4 separate regions of the Homo sapiens genome follow, and regions 1, 3 and 4 are each linked to region 2. The links are contacts of gene promoters, found by promoter capture Hi-C in human tissues and cell types (Jung and others, 2019). All regions are on one chromosome and are shown on one strand. The core of a region is centred on a gene start or on the middle of the fragment in contact, and the rest is flanking DNA. Distances in the headings are between cores, read along the strand shown.

Evidence for each region. The method cuts DNA at HindIII sites, captures the fragments that hold promoters and counts their contacts. A contact is called where the count stands out against the background at its distance.
Region 1: a contact is called between a fragment that was not itself captured here and the fragment with the promoter of AUTS2 in region 2, in 1 of the 25 tissues and cell types used here (dorsolateral prefrontal cortex).
Region 3: a fragment that was not itself captured here is called in contact with the fragment with the promoter of AUTS2 in region 2 in 2 of the 25 tissues and cell types used here (dorsolateral prefrontal cortex and lymphoblastoid cells).
Region 4: a contact is called between a fragment that was not itself captured here and the fragment with the promoter of AUTS2 in region 2, in 1 of the 25 tissues and cell types used here (lymphoblastoid cells).

The regions. Positions count from the first base shown.
Region 1 is chr7:69,442,989-69,446,442 of GRCh38, forward strand. No RefSeq gene overlaps it. Among named protein-coding and RNA genes, the nearest start is that of CT66, 150 kb to the right of the region's middle. The HindIII fragment of the contact is 6,974 bases long and covers 1-3,454 here.
Region 2 is chr7:69,596,713-69,600,332 of GRCh38, forward strand. AUTS2 (activator of transcription and developmental regulator AUTS2) reads left to right here and starts at 1,763. Exons shown (of 19, transcript NM_015570.4): 1 at 1,763-3,250. The coding sequence starts at 2,942. CT66 (cancer/testis associated transcript 66) reads right to left here and starts at 912. Exons shown (of 3, transcript NR_148927.1): 1 at 335-912. RefSeq lists enhancers at 933-1,012, 2,193-2,242 and silencers at 1,323-1,742, 1,763-1,842, 3,007-3,076. The HindIII fragment of the contact is 7,960 bases long and covers 1-3,620 here.
Region 3 is chr7:69,786,297-69,789,840 of GRCh38, forward strand. The region is part of intron 1 of AUTS2 (activator of transcription and developmental regulator AUTS2); the gene reads left to right. Among named protein-coding and RNA genes, the nearest start is that of AUTS2, 190 kb to the left of the region's middle. The HindIII fragment of the contact is 5,822 bases long and covers 1-3,544 here.
Region 4 is chr7:69,850,439-69,853,932 of GRCh38, forward strand. The region is part of intron 1 of AUTS2 (activator of transcription and developmental regulator AUTS2); the gene reads left to right. Among named protein-coding and RNA genes, the nearest start is that of AUTS2, 250 kb to the left of the region's middle. The HindIII fragment of the contact is 5,304 bases long and covers 1-3,494 here.

The DNA of each region.
Region 1 (3,454 bases), core at 401-2,900, 150 kb before region 2:
CTGAGACCTGTCACCTTGGTTTGCAGACGGCCGCCTTCTCACTGTGTCCACAGGTGGCCTTTCCTCTGTGGGCGAGTGCCCCCAGTGTCTCCGTGTCCAAATCTTCTCTTCTTATAAAAACACCAGTCAGATTGGATTAGGACTCACCCTATGGCCCCATTTTTAACTTAATCACCTCTTTAGAGATTCGATCCCCAGATACAGTCACATTGTGAGGTACTGGGGGTTAGGACCTCAGCATATAGATTTGGGGAGAGGACATAATTTTGTCCATAACAGTATGAACTCTGTGGTCATACCAGTTGCTAACTTACTCACACCACTGCATGCCAGCCTGGGTGACAGAGTGAGACTCTGTCTCTAAAAAAGAAAAAGAAGAAAAGAGAAAAAAAGCCTAAACCACTAACCGTTACTATTTCTAAAGCTGAAGCAAAACAGGTGAGTTATAAATAACTCTTAATTTCTCATTTTTTTTTTTAAATCCTGGGTGTAGATAAAGACCAAGCTAGAACCAAAAGCTTCAGAGAAATAAGTTGGCTTCAGGTAGGAGCGTGGCCTTTGAGTCAAAATGCCAACCTGGCTGTGTCCCTCACCCTGCCCCCAACCTCTTCACCGTCTGTCAGAACAGCTGCCAGCCAGTGGTCTCTACAGGTTTCCAGCAAATATTCATTCTTTGCACAGAGGAGGCAAATATCTGAGACTGGAAACAAATTTCTTGAAGTTACTTAGGTCCTTTACCTAAGTTAAGTTGAGCTGTTTTATTTATTTGATAGAGTCTCACTCTGTCTCCCAGGCTGGAGTGCAGTGGCGCAATCTGGGCTCACTGCAACCTCTGCCTCCTGGGCTCAAGCAATCCTCATGCCTCAGCCCCCCGAGTAGCTGAGATTACAGGGACATGCCACCACGCCCAGCTAATTTTTGTATTTTTAGTAGAGATGAGGTTTTGTCATATTGCCCAGGCTGGTCTTGAACTCCTGCCCTCAAGTGATCTGCCTACCTTGGCCTCCCAAAGTGCTGGGATTACAGGCATGGCCACCTCACCTGGCCCAAGTTGAGCTGTTTTAAACAGTGCTTGGAGAAAATGTTTTTTCCAAAAATTACTACCAAGTTCTTTCTAAATACTTTATAGTGCATGGTTTCTAAATGACCTATAATAATTAAAATTTAATAAGAGCAAACATTTATTATTTACTAGGTTCTAGGCACTATGTTAAGTACTTTATAGGTATCTCAATTAGTTATCACAATTGTATGATAGAAGCAGGGGTGTCTTTGTCCATTTTGCATTGCTGTAAAGGAATACCTGAGGCTGGGTAATTTATAAAGAAAAGAGGTTTATTTGGCTCACGGTTCTGCAGGCTGTACAGAAGCATGGTGCCAGCATCTGCTTCTAGTGAGGACCTCAGGAAGCTTCCAGTCATGGTGGAAGGCAAAGGGGAGCCAGTGTGTCACATGATGAGACGAGAGAGGGAGCAAGAGAGAGGCGGGAGGAGGTGCCAGACACTTATGGTTTTTTCGTTCAGACTGGATCTCACTCGTCACCCAGGCTGGAGCAAGGTGGTGTGAACATGGTTACTCTAGCTTTGACCTCCTGGGCTGAAGTGATCCTCCTGCCTCAGCCTCCTAAGTATCTGGGACTATAGGCCTGCATGACCCTCCCTGGCTAATTTTAAAAATTTTTTTGTGTGGAGACAGGATCTTGCCATGTTGCTCAGGCTGGTCTTGGATTTCTGGGCTCAAGCAATCCTCCAGCCTCAGCCTCCCAATGTGTTGGTATTACAGGCGTGAGCCACCATGCCTAGCCTCTTAGATTCTTTTAAACAATCAGATCTCTAGGGAACTAGTGGACTGAGAACTCATTTATTACCTTAAGGAGGGCACCAAACCATTCATGAAGGATTGCCCCCCATGATCCAAACACCCAAACACCTTCTGCCAGGACCCACCTCCAACATTGGGGATTAATTTTTTGGGGGGTTTTTTGGGTTTTTTTTTTTTGTTTTTTTTTTAAGGCAGAGTCTTGCTCTGTCATCCAGGCTGAAGTGCAGTGACGCAATCTCGGCTCACTGCAGCCTCAAATTCCTGAGCTCAAGCAATCCTCACGCCTCAGCCTCCTGAGTAGCTTGGACTCATAGTGCATGTCACCATGCCCAGATAATTTTTTAAATTTTTTATAGAGATGAGGTCTCACTTTGTTGCCCAGGTTGGTTTCGAACTCCTGGGCTCAAGTGATCCTTCTGCCTTGGCTTCCCAAAGTACTGGGATTACAGGCATGAGCCACCACCACGCCTGGCTGTTGTTTTTTTTTCAAGTGACAAATTTTCATCACCTCTCCAAGGCCACCTGCATGCCCGTGTGTGTTTCACAGTGCACAGCATTTAACTGCATTCATCGGCTGTGCTAATCCCACTCGCTCGTTTGCCCAAGTCATGCCAAAACCATCAGGTCAGCTCAGTGCTTCCCTCTCACTTGGCCTGTGATTTTGATGTCATCCCCACCTCCACCTCTCAGAACTGTGTGTTCAAAGAAAGACCTTGGATTCCAACTTCTATCTGCCCAGACTCATCTTTGCTAGAACTGTGACTTCCAGACCTCTCCCTCTCTCCCTCTGTGCTCCTGATTCAAATTTTAAAATTCCCCCAGGAGGTGACTCAAATCAGTAGGAGGAGACGTGTTCCAGAAATGATCCGGGAGGGTTTTGTCAGTAGGTCTGACCAACAAAACTGCTCTGCACCGGCAAACGCACGAACGTGGCCTTGCTGTAACAAGAACAGAGAGGCTTCGGCCTGAGCAGCACCAGGTCTGCCCTGCGCAGCAGTGGGGCATAAGTACGATGGCTGATAAAAGAACAGGGAGCCTGGAATGATCTGATAAGAAGCAGGCCCCGCTGCAGAATCTTAAACAGAGCAAGGGCGTGATCAGAATGGTGATGGGGACTCCATTCTATGGGCTGGGTGACTGGAGAAGGTAAGAGGCAGCAGAGAGGACAGTCAGGACAGACACTACAGCAATCAGCGTGACGGGGACAGACGGATCCTGACTTATGACTGTGGGAACAGACACAGCTGGGAGTCTTCAAAGAGCAGTTGTAGGGAAGGACAATGACTTGGTGGTTGTCTGAATATGGGGTGTAGAAGGCATAGGAATAACAAGTGCCAAGTTTCTCCCCCGAGGAATAAAGAGAGTGCTGGAGCTGGAATCAGGGCACTCAGAAATCGATTGAGAGGCCAGGGCAGTGGCTCATGTCTATAATCCCAGCGCCTTGGAAGGCCAAAGCGGGAGGATCGCTTGAGGCCAGGACATCAAGACCAGCCTGGGCAACATAGTGAGACCTTGTCTCTACAAAAACACTTTTAAATTACCAGGAATGGTGGCTCATACCTGTAAATTTATTTTATTTTATTTTATTTTATTTTATTTTATTTTATTTTATTTTATTTTATTTATTTTATTT
Region 2 (3,620 bases), core at 513-3,012:
CTATTAAATTGTTATTAGGAATTATAAGACGAGAGAGGCTTGCCTGCTAGAACGTCAAGAAGCAGTATCTTTTCTGTTTTGTACAACGCTGTATTCCCAGCACCTACAACTGTGCCTGCTAAGCCTGGTAAGGCCTAATAATTGTTAAATGAAAAACAATCAATCACTCAATCATAGATGTGTCAGATTGTGAGAGAAAACACGTCCTTACTGTTTTCTCTACCACCCTCCTTCCAGTAATACTAATAAAATGTGCACATTTGTATTCTAAAGAGGTGAAATCATATACACAGCGCTCTAGCACGGTGCCTGGCCCATTGTAATTAATACATGCCAGTTTATTTTCCTTTTCTTCCTCCACAAGTATGGGCTACTAGGGAGGACGAAGGGTTGGTGCCGTGGTGTTTATGTGCCTGGACAGAAAGTGAAGCGTATCCAAGAGGCTGCTGAGAGCGGGCTGTCGGTCTTTCTGATCCGTATAGATCAATTCCAGTGCCCTGAAAAACGCACAGCTATTTTACCCAGAGAGGCTGGTCGCTTTTGTTGATCGATTCTCGGCTGCAGTCAGCTCTTTAATACAACTTTTTATGAGCATCAGCCACATTGCGGCGGGAGGAGGGGCTGTGGTGGAAAAAGCAGGGAAACCGCCCCCCACTCCCAAAAAGTAAAGGAAGCCCGCGGGGCAGGGACTGCGGTTTGCCGGTCTAACGGGTCCTCGAGCTGGGGCGGCGGTCCCGGCCCCTTCGGCCCCGCCCCTCGCCCGCGGCCGCCTCCGAGGTTCAAGTTCGGCCCCCGGCTGTTAGGCCTCGCGCTCCCGGATCTGAAGCCGCCCGTGCGTCCCTAGGTCCCCCGCTGGAAGACGAGGCGGGAATCCCAGGGGTCATCCGGGCGCGGGGTCGCTCGTCCACGCACTGTGGTGCCACGTGGAGGAAAAGTTTCCAACTCTGCCAGTTGGTGCTCCCACTGCGCCCAGGCGGAGCAAAGGCCCGCGCTTTGGCACCCGCTCCCCGTTCTGTCTCCTCCAGTCGCGCCCCCTCCCAGGGACGCCCCCCTTGTACCCCTTCTCTGAATTCCCTTCTCTCCTCGCAGCGCAGGTAGCCAAGGGAAAACACCCTTGGGGGCTGGTGGGGCTTCCCGAGAAGGCGGCCTCGGGCCGGCCAGGGGTAGAGGATCCAGGGACAAGTGTCCCGAGGAGGATGTGGGGGGCGCGCGCGCGAAGTGGCCTGGGAGCAGGGGCCCACACGCGTCCCCGCTGCGACAGGCGGGATCCTCCGGCGGCTTCCACGCCCTGGCGCGCCAACTCTGCCCGGCCGCGGCCGACCCCACGCGGGCGCCCCCTCCACGCCCCCGCCCCCGCCCCCCTCACAGCTCCCCACCGCCCCCAGTGCGCAGGCCCGGCCGCCCCAGCGCGCATGCCCTGGGCTCGCGAGCGCGGCCAGCCCCCAGCCTTTTGCTTTCTACACACTCTACAACTGGGGAGGGGGCGGGGGAGGAGGGAGCCCAGCCGTCCACGTGATCCCGCCGGCCGGGGCCGCGGGGGCGGGAGCGCGCGCCGAGAGAGGCGCGGGGAGGGCGGGTGCGCGGGAGCGCGCGCACTCGAGCGAGCGAGCGAAAGCACGAACGAGCGAGCGAGCGAGCGAGCGAGCGGGCGGGCGCGGGGTTGGGCTGAGGCGGGCGGCGGCGGCGGCGGCGGCGGTGGGCTGGCCGCGGAGGGGGAGGAGCGGGAGCTGCGCGAGGCAGGCGGGCGGGCGGAGGATGGGGCAGTGCCCGGGCTCCCGCTGCAGCCGCCCGGGGACACGCCGTGCACCCTCCGGCTCGGGGCTTTCTCGGCGGCGGCGGCGGCAGCAGCAGCAGCGTTAGCGGCGGCGGCGAGAGCAGCGTTCCCGGCTGCGCTTCTCCCTCAGGCGGGGCGGCGAGAGAAGCGGCGGCGGCGGCGGCGGCACACCGGTGTCTCTCCCGCTGGAGATTTCTTTCTGCTTTCCTCATCGACTGACTGACTCACCCCCTCCCTTTTTTGAGGAAGGGTGACCTCTTCTCTGGGACTGGAAAAAATATTTTTGTGAGGAGGGGGGCGGGTGGCAGCGACAGGGTTTGCTTCTTCTCTTCTTTCATCTCCCTCTCCTCCCCCCTCGAAGACCGAAAAGCAAACCCCACAACTGCTCCAGCAGCATCCTCCTTCCCTTCCTCCGCCTCCCTTCTCCTCCGCCGCTCGCAGTTTCGCCCTCTCTTCCGCTAATGATTGCATTATTATGCTCCCCTCTCTGGGGGGTCTCGCCCCTCTTGGGTCGCTCCGGAGCCCCGGCCTCCCCTGGCTGCATTTCTTAAAAATTTGGGAGCCTGGGAGTGAGTTTTCTCCGAGGCGTGTGTGAGAGGCGGCGGGGGTGTTTTCCTGCGCGAGGGGCGGGTGAAGTTCATTGCCCCCACTTTTCCCGCGACCTTTTTCGGACCCGATTTTGGATCGAGTTGAGGGGGGCGCGGGCGTTTTCGGGGGGCGGGGGGCGCGGCGGAGAATGGCCGCGGGGAGGGCTCCCCGGAGCCTCCCAGTCTCTTGATCAAAGCATTCCGCTATTCTGATTTATTGCTTGCTTGGTGAGTTATTTTTTTTTCCTCTAAAGGAGACCTGTGTGTTCAGCCATTACTTTGCTCGGCGCTGCTCCCAGGCATCTCCGACCCTCGGTGCTGTGGGGAGCCCCACACTTGGGCTCCTCGCCTCTCGCCCTCGCTCCCCGTCCCTCCTCCCCTCTCTCCGCCCCTTCCCCCTTTTCTTTCTCCTCTCTTTCTTCCCCTCTCTCCCTTCTTTCGGCCGCCGTCTCCCCCGCGCCCTCCTCGGGGCGGAGGGAAGCCGTGAAGGGGGAGGGAGGGCTCGGTGTCAATTTTTTTTTGTGTGGCTGCGGCCGTAGCCTGTGGCGGGCAAGCGGGGAGACCCCGGCGCAGCAGAACCATGGATGGCCCGACGCGGGGCCATGGACTCCGCAAAAAGCGGCGGTCGCGGTCGCAGCGAGACCGGGAGAGGCGCTCCCGGGGCGGGCTGGGGGCCGGCGCGGCCGGCGGCGGCGGGGCTGGCCGGACCCGGGCGCTCTCACTCGCCTCGTCGTCGGGCTCCGACAAGGAAGACAATGGGAAGCCCCCGTCCTCCGCCCCGTCCCGGCCCAGACCCCCGCGGAGGAAGCGGAGAGAGTCCACCTCGGCAGAAGAGGACATCATTGATGGATTTGCCATGACCAGCTTTGTCACTTTTGAAGCGCTGGAGGTAAGGGGGACCCCCCTTCCCCCGGGTTCCCTTTATGCACGACCCCACTCGGCTGCGCCCGGCTCTCCTGCCTCCCTCGCCGCGCTCCGGGCTGTCTGTCTGTCTGTCTGTCTGTCTGTCTGTCTAGGCTGAGGTCTTATTGTTGGTGGGGGGAGCTGGGGGCGCGGGCAGACAGGCAGCAGGAGGGAGTCGCAAAGCCGTGCCTGGTCTCGTTTCCTCGCTCGCCTTTCCCCTGCGCCCCCTCCCTGCACCCCCTCCACAGCAGATGGGCAGAAAGAAAGGGGTTCGGGCATCACAACAATGCGCCCCCTCTCCACAGAGAGCTCTGCCCCCACTCCTTCCTCCTCTCCCTCCCCAATCATGGCTTCTT
Region 3 (3,544 bases), core at 473-2,972, 190 kb after region 2:
TGCGTCTAGCTAAAGGATTGTAAATGCACCAGTCAGCACTCTGTAAAAACGCACCAGTCAGCGCTCTGTGTCTAGCTAAAGGATTGTAAACGCACCAGTCAGCACTCTGTAAAATGGACCAATAGCACTGTGTAAAATGGACCAATCAGTAGGACATTGGTGGGGAAAAATAAGGGAATAAAAGCTGGCCACCCCAGCCAGCAGTGGCAACCCGCTTGGGTCCTCTTCCATGCTGTGGAAGCTTTGTTCTTTCACTCTAAATCTTGCTGCTACTCACTCTTTGGGTCCGTGCCACCTTTAAGAGCTGTAACACTCACCACGAAGGTCTGTGGCTTCATTCTTGAAGTCAGCGAGATCAAGAACCCACCAGAAGGAACTAACTCTGAACACAAGGTGATCCACCCGCCTCGGCCTCCCAAAGTGCTGGGATTACAGGCCTGAGCCACCGTGCCTGACCTGTCACAATGATTTTTTAAACTGCATATCTTAATCCATTAGTGGGTGACAGTCAGAATTTTATTTTATTCAGTTTAAAAAATAGAATCAAATAGATGACATCAGAGTATACTACACTTAGTGTGTGTATTGTTTCAAAAAAACTTGTTTTAAGTGTATGTGCATGCAGGCAGACATCAGAAATTTTTATGTGTCATGCTCTAAAAAGTTTGAAAACAAGCCTATCAGTTGAGGTTTGGTATCATTTATAGGCAAGTAAACTGAAACTCTGAGGTTAAGGACGTTGCCTACTATCAGAACTAAAATTTGAACTCAGCTCTTTCTGGCTTTCAGCATTTGATCCAATTATGTTTCTCACAGAGCTTTCCCTCTCTAATGGTTTTCCAAGACTCTTGAGATCACAGAGACACTGATTTGCTCCTGACGTTGTTCTAAAATCAGAGGAGGAACATGCACTCTGATGACCAGACCCAAGTTTGACTGGTTTCTCAAAACATCTTTACATAACATAGTCTATTTCAGGAGAAGGGAAAAGAAAGATGACTCTAGAACTTGTCTTTATTAAGAAACAAGGAAAATCTAGACACTCTTTTTCTGTCATAGAAAGATAGCCTAGTTTTACCAGAGAGGAGAAATTCTAACCAGAAGTAGTATCAGGATCTTTCTCTCTAAAGCACTTAAAGTCTTTTGTTGGCGAGACGAGTAGAGCAAGAGGAATCTGCCACCTTGTGTAAAACATTTTGGTTTTACTAGTCAGGCATATTTTTGAATAACCTTCACTAGCATTTATTATAGTAGTTATTTTATTTTATTTTGACACAGAGTCTCACTCTGTTGCCTAGGCTGGAGTGCAGTGGCATGATCTCTGCTCACTGCAACCTCCACCTCCTGGGTTCAAGTGATTCTCCTGCCTCAGCTGTAATCCCAAGAAGCTGGGATTACAGGCGTGCCACCATACCCAGCTAATTTTTGAAGCCTCTATTTTAGTTTCCCCCAACTTTACTAGAGATGGGGTTTCACCATGTTGGCCAGGGCTGGTCTCGAACTCCTGACTTCAGGTGATCCGCCCACCTTGGCCTCCCAAAGTGCTGGGCTTACAGGCGTTGAGCCACTGCGCCTAGCTGTTACAACATTTTGGCACCAGTTTTACCTACTTCCCCAGCCTCCTAGGAATGAAGTGGAACTTTTATTAAGGACAGATTTTTCAGAGGGGCATTATTCTCACTGGCATTCCTTCCCTCTTGCCTGGAATCACCCTTGAATGAATTCCTGATTGGTTCAGCTAGACTTTTTCTTTTACAGAAGAAATTGCTCTTGGTGAAGATGCCAGAAAAATATCGTAAAAACCTGCTCTCTTATCCTCTTCTCTGTACTACTTTGTTACCCCACCCCACCCCACCTCAAGCCCCCAGTAAAAAATGACCTTTTGGCCCAGGGCCCTATCTGAGTATATTGTGTGGCAGAGTTGTCTCTGGCTGACTCCCAGGATTGTTAATGACTTCCTTCTCTGTCCCTAAATAATTGCTTGAAAAGACAGCTGTGGAGAGACATTGCCCCCAGCTTGCAGGCTCATTAATTCAGCCCTATGAAAGAGGGTGCAAAGGAAGAAGGTGGAAGTTACTTTGCCAAGAGTAGCAGGCTTGGGGGAAACTAAAATAGAGGCTTCAGGGGAAGGGCAGCAGCATGGTGTCAGAGATTACACTTGGAGTTTGTGAAGTCTGGGCAGGCTTCAATCTAAAGAAACTTTATGCACAAAAGCCCAAATCCAGGGAAATAAATGAAAGTGATTATTCACTTTTCTAAAGTCCTTACAGTAGCGTTCCTCTGGTATTGTTTGAATACAGTTTAACCTGAAGGGCACTTGGTTTTTGTGCAGCTCTTCAAGAACAGAAGCATCTAAGTAAGTAGAAAGTCTGAGAAATTAACAGAGAAGATTCCCTAAAAGTCAGCCTTCATTACTTGACCATTATTCATAATTCTGCATTTGTCTATTCCTCCAGTGGCCTTGAAGCAAAATTAAAAAAAAAAAAAGACACTTCTATGCCCCTTAAAAAAAGAATAATCAAAACTTGCATAGACAGAATAAGAATCAAATACACTGGGGAACAAATACTCTGATTAGCTGTCCGGTTCAGCTCTGACGCGTCTAGCACTCTGAGTTATAAGGGAAACGATAGGACACTTGGTTTTTGTTTTCCAACAACAGGAAACATATCAGGTTTCTAAGAAGATGTAAAGTCTTTCTTAAAACCCAATTATAGAAGGAATTTATGCAAGTCTTTAGGCAAGGAGTATTAAAGAAATTAATGTTTAATGCCATCAACAAGTTTTCAAGCAGATGCAGAACTCCTAGTGTGGGTGACTTTTTGGTGTTTACCTTATATCAAGAATGCAGCATTTAAGGCCACTTTGACAGAGTGCAGCTAAGCTTTTTGGGTTTGCTTGTGTGGACAATTTCCATTCAGCAATGGCTCTCAAACTTCAATGCACATCAGAATTACGTGGGGGCACTTAAAAAAAATGTATGCCCAGGCTGCATCCAGACCAATTCAGTCAGAATCTCTGATGGTGAGCCCCAAGTATCAATATTTTGTAAAACTGATTCCAAAGGTTAGCTAAGTGTGAATCAGTGCGTTAGATGATCTTTAACGTTAATTATCTTAGCTGGATTTCTCAAAGGGGTAGTCCTAGAATGCTGATATTCCCTGTTATTAATTTAAGTAAGTCCCTGTTGTTTCTGTTAACATTCTCTTAGAACTCTGAGACTTGTATTTCTGCTGGGACCCAGGGCTACTGCACCTTTCTTGGCCTATAGGAGTGTTGTCAGAACCAAAGTACTTGTTAAGCAGCAGCTTAGGATCAACATTAGCAGACCTCATTGTGGCTGTTGGAGAATATAGAACATCAGATGAAGTAGGGGCTTGACGTTTCCACAGCCCTAAATCACATATTTCAGAGTACGTTAAGATTCCTTTTGGAACTCAGATCTTTTTCTGGCCATGGATAGACTGTTGTCTTGGGGGGATGCCAGTTGTCTCTCCAGTGAGAAAAGGAGATGTTTATGTATTCTCTAGTTCCCTTCTGGAAG
Region 4 (3,494 bases), core at 269-2,768, 250 kb after region 2:
AGACTTTTCCAGAGTGACTGTACCATTGTACATTCCCAGCAGCAGTGTATGAGGGAATCAGCATCCTTGCCAGGATTTGGAATTGTTGCTGTTTTTTAATATGGCTGTTCTGATAGGTGTGTAATGATATCTCATTGTGATTAATTTGGATTTCCCTAATGGTTAGTGATGGCAGACATTTTTATGTGCTTATTTGCCATTTGTATGTCCTCTTTGATGAAATGTCTGTTCATGTCTTTTGCCCATTCTTTTGGATTATTTGACTTTTACTGTTAAGTTTTGAAATGTTCTTTATGTATTCTAGATATCAGTATCTTGTCTGATGTATGGTTTGCAAATATTTTCTCAGTCTGGAGCTTGGCTTTTCATTATTATAACAGGATGCTTTGCAGAGCAAAGGTTTTTAATTTTGGTGAGGTCAAATTTATCAGCATTTTATTTTATGGAGTATGCTTTTGATGTCATGTCTAAGAAACTCTTCACCAAACCCATAGGTCCTGAAGATTGGCTCCTATGTCTTCATCAGAAGCTTAAGCTTTACATTTTACATTTAAATGTATGACCCATTTTAAATTAAGTTTTGTGTAAGTATGAGGTTTAGGTTGAGGCTTATTTATTTTTTGCCTATGAATAATCTAATTGCTTCAACACTGTTTAAAAGGCATTTCTTCTAACATTGAATTGCTTTTGGATCGTTGTCAAATATCAGTTGGCCATAGTTTTGTGGGACTGTTTCTAGGTTCTCTATTCTGTCCGTTGATCTGCGTGTCTGTCCCTTCGCCAGTCCCTTACTGTATTGATTACAGTATAACTATTTAGTAAGTTTTGAAATCATATAGAGTGATTCCTCTTACTGTATTCTTTTTTGTTAATAGTTTCAGGTATTCTAGTTTCTTTCCATGTAAATTTTTAGAACAATCTTGAACGTATTTACAAAAATTTTGCAGGGATTTTGATAGGAATTATGATGAATACTTTTATTTTTATGTTTTGTAGAGACAGTGTCTCGCCATGTTGCTCAGGCTGGTCTTAAACACCTGGACACAAGCAATCCCCCCACCTTCGCCTCCCAAAGTGCCAGGATTACAGGCGTAAGCCACTGCGCCTGGCCCATATGTGAAATCTGCATATCAATTTTGGGAGATTTGATATCTTTGCTATACTGAACTTTCCCATCCATGAACACTATATGCCTTTCCTTTTATTTAGATCATCTTTGATTTCTTTCCATCAGCAATTTGTAGTTTTTAGCATACAGGTCCTATACATCTTTTGTTAGATTTGCATCTAAATATTTCATTTTTCTGAGACATTATACATAACATTGTAATTTTGATTTTGCTTTTCCTGTGTTCATTGTTAGTATATTGAAATACAATTTGTTTTTGCATGTTGGTCTTCAACTTTGCAGAGTTGACTTCTAGGAGTTTTTATTTAGATTTTTTGGGATTTTTGTAAGCATATCATCTATACGAGCATGTCATCTATAAACAGGGACAGTTTTATTATTTACTTTCTGATATACCTTTTCCTTTTATTGCCTTATTATGCTGGTTGGAGCTTCAGTACTATGCTGAATAGTGGTAGTGAGAGTGGACATGCTTGTCTTGTTCCAAATCTGAAGTGAACAAGCATTAGGTCTTTCCCTACTAAATTTGATGTTAGTTGTAGGTTTTTGGGTAGTTGTTCTTTGAAGCTGAGGAAATTCCTTTCTATTCTTGGTTTTTATAAATATGTATTGAATGCTTTTTTGCATCAACTATGATGGATTATGTTGATTGGTTTTTGAATATTGAACCAGCTTTGCATCCCTGGAATAAATCCCATTTGGTCAGGATGTATAATTCTTTTTATATATTGCTAAATTTTGTTTACTAATATTTTGTTAAGGACTTTTGTGTTTATAAGAGGTAGTATGTGATTTTTTTTTTCTTTGCTGGTATTTTTAGGGTAATAGTAGCTTCATAAAAATTGGAAAGTGTCTGCTTTCCCTGTTTTCTTTTCTTTTTTTTCGAGACAGAATCTCACTCTGGAGTGAGATTCAGATTCAGATTCCTAGGCTGGAGTGCAGCGGCTCAATCTCTGCTCACTGCAACCTCCGCCTCCTGGGCTCAAGCGATTCTCCTGCCTCAGCCTCCTGAGTAGCTGGGATTACAGGTGCCTGCCACCATGCCCGGCTAATTTTTGTATTTTTAGTAGAGACAGGGTTTCACCATGTTGGCCAGGCTGGTCTTGAACTCCTGACCTCAGATGATCCATCCATCTCAGCCTCCCAAAGTGCTGGGATTATAGGTGTGAGCCACCGTGCCCGGCCCCTGCTTTTCTAATGTTATCATTTATTGCTAAAAGTTTACCGTTAGTACTGCTTGTGTCCCCTAAACTTGGTATGTTGTAATTTCATTTTCATTCAGTTCAGGTCATTGTTTAAGTTATTTTGAGGCTTCCTGTTTGACCCATAGATTATTTGCCAGTGTGTTTTTTAGTTCCCAAGTTTTTTTAGATTTTCCTGTTATCTTTCTGTTATTTATGTCTGCTTTTCTTTCATTGTGGTCAGAGAATACACTGTATATGATTTCAGTTCTTTTAAATTTGCTAAGGTTTGTATTATATCCCAGGATATGGTCTATGTTATTTGTTCTGAGGTCATTTAAAAAAAAATGTGGCTTATGCTTTGTTAAGTGTAGTGTGCTATAAATGTCAGTTAGATCCTAGCCTGTTGATGGCATTGTTGAAATCTTTTACATTTGCTGATTTTCTGTCTAGTTGCTCTATCAATTAATTGTTGATAAAGGGGCATTTTAGTCTCCAACTACCTTTTGTCTATTTCTCTTTTCAGTTCTGTCAGTGTTTGCTTCACACTTTACAACTCCATTTTTTTGCCACAAATACATTTGGGATTACTATATTTGCTTGATTGATTGACTTACATATCATTTTTAATGTCCCTCTCTGTTTCTACTAATTTTCTATGTTCTGAAGTCTACTTATTTTATTCATGTAGGTACTCCTGTTTTCTTTTGACTGTTTTCATTGTATATATTTTTCATATTTTTACTTTTTACATATATTTATCATTATACTTGAAGTGAGTTTATGGATAGCATATAGTTCATGCTTTTTTATTCATTCAACCAATCTGTATTTTAATTGGTATATTTAGTCACTGTACCTTTAATGAAATTATTGGTGTGTTAGAAGACCCAGGCAGCTCATCACTTTGAAGTTCCTTGCATCCTAAGGTCCCTAGCAGTTCTGCCTGTTCTCTCTACCTTCAAGAATCTTTTAATGTTCATGTTATATATATAACACCCAGGAATTGTTTTACTGTACTTAGCAGAAATGATAGGAAAAGTACATCTGTTCCATCTTTCTGGAACTGCTTCTTTACTTTTAAAATTAAAAAAAATTATTGATACACCTATACCACAATATTGCTGTAAGTGAGATGAAAGTGAAAAAGGATTCAACATTTAAATTCTATTTGGACATCAGTT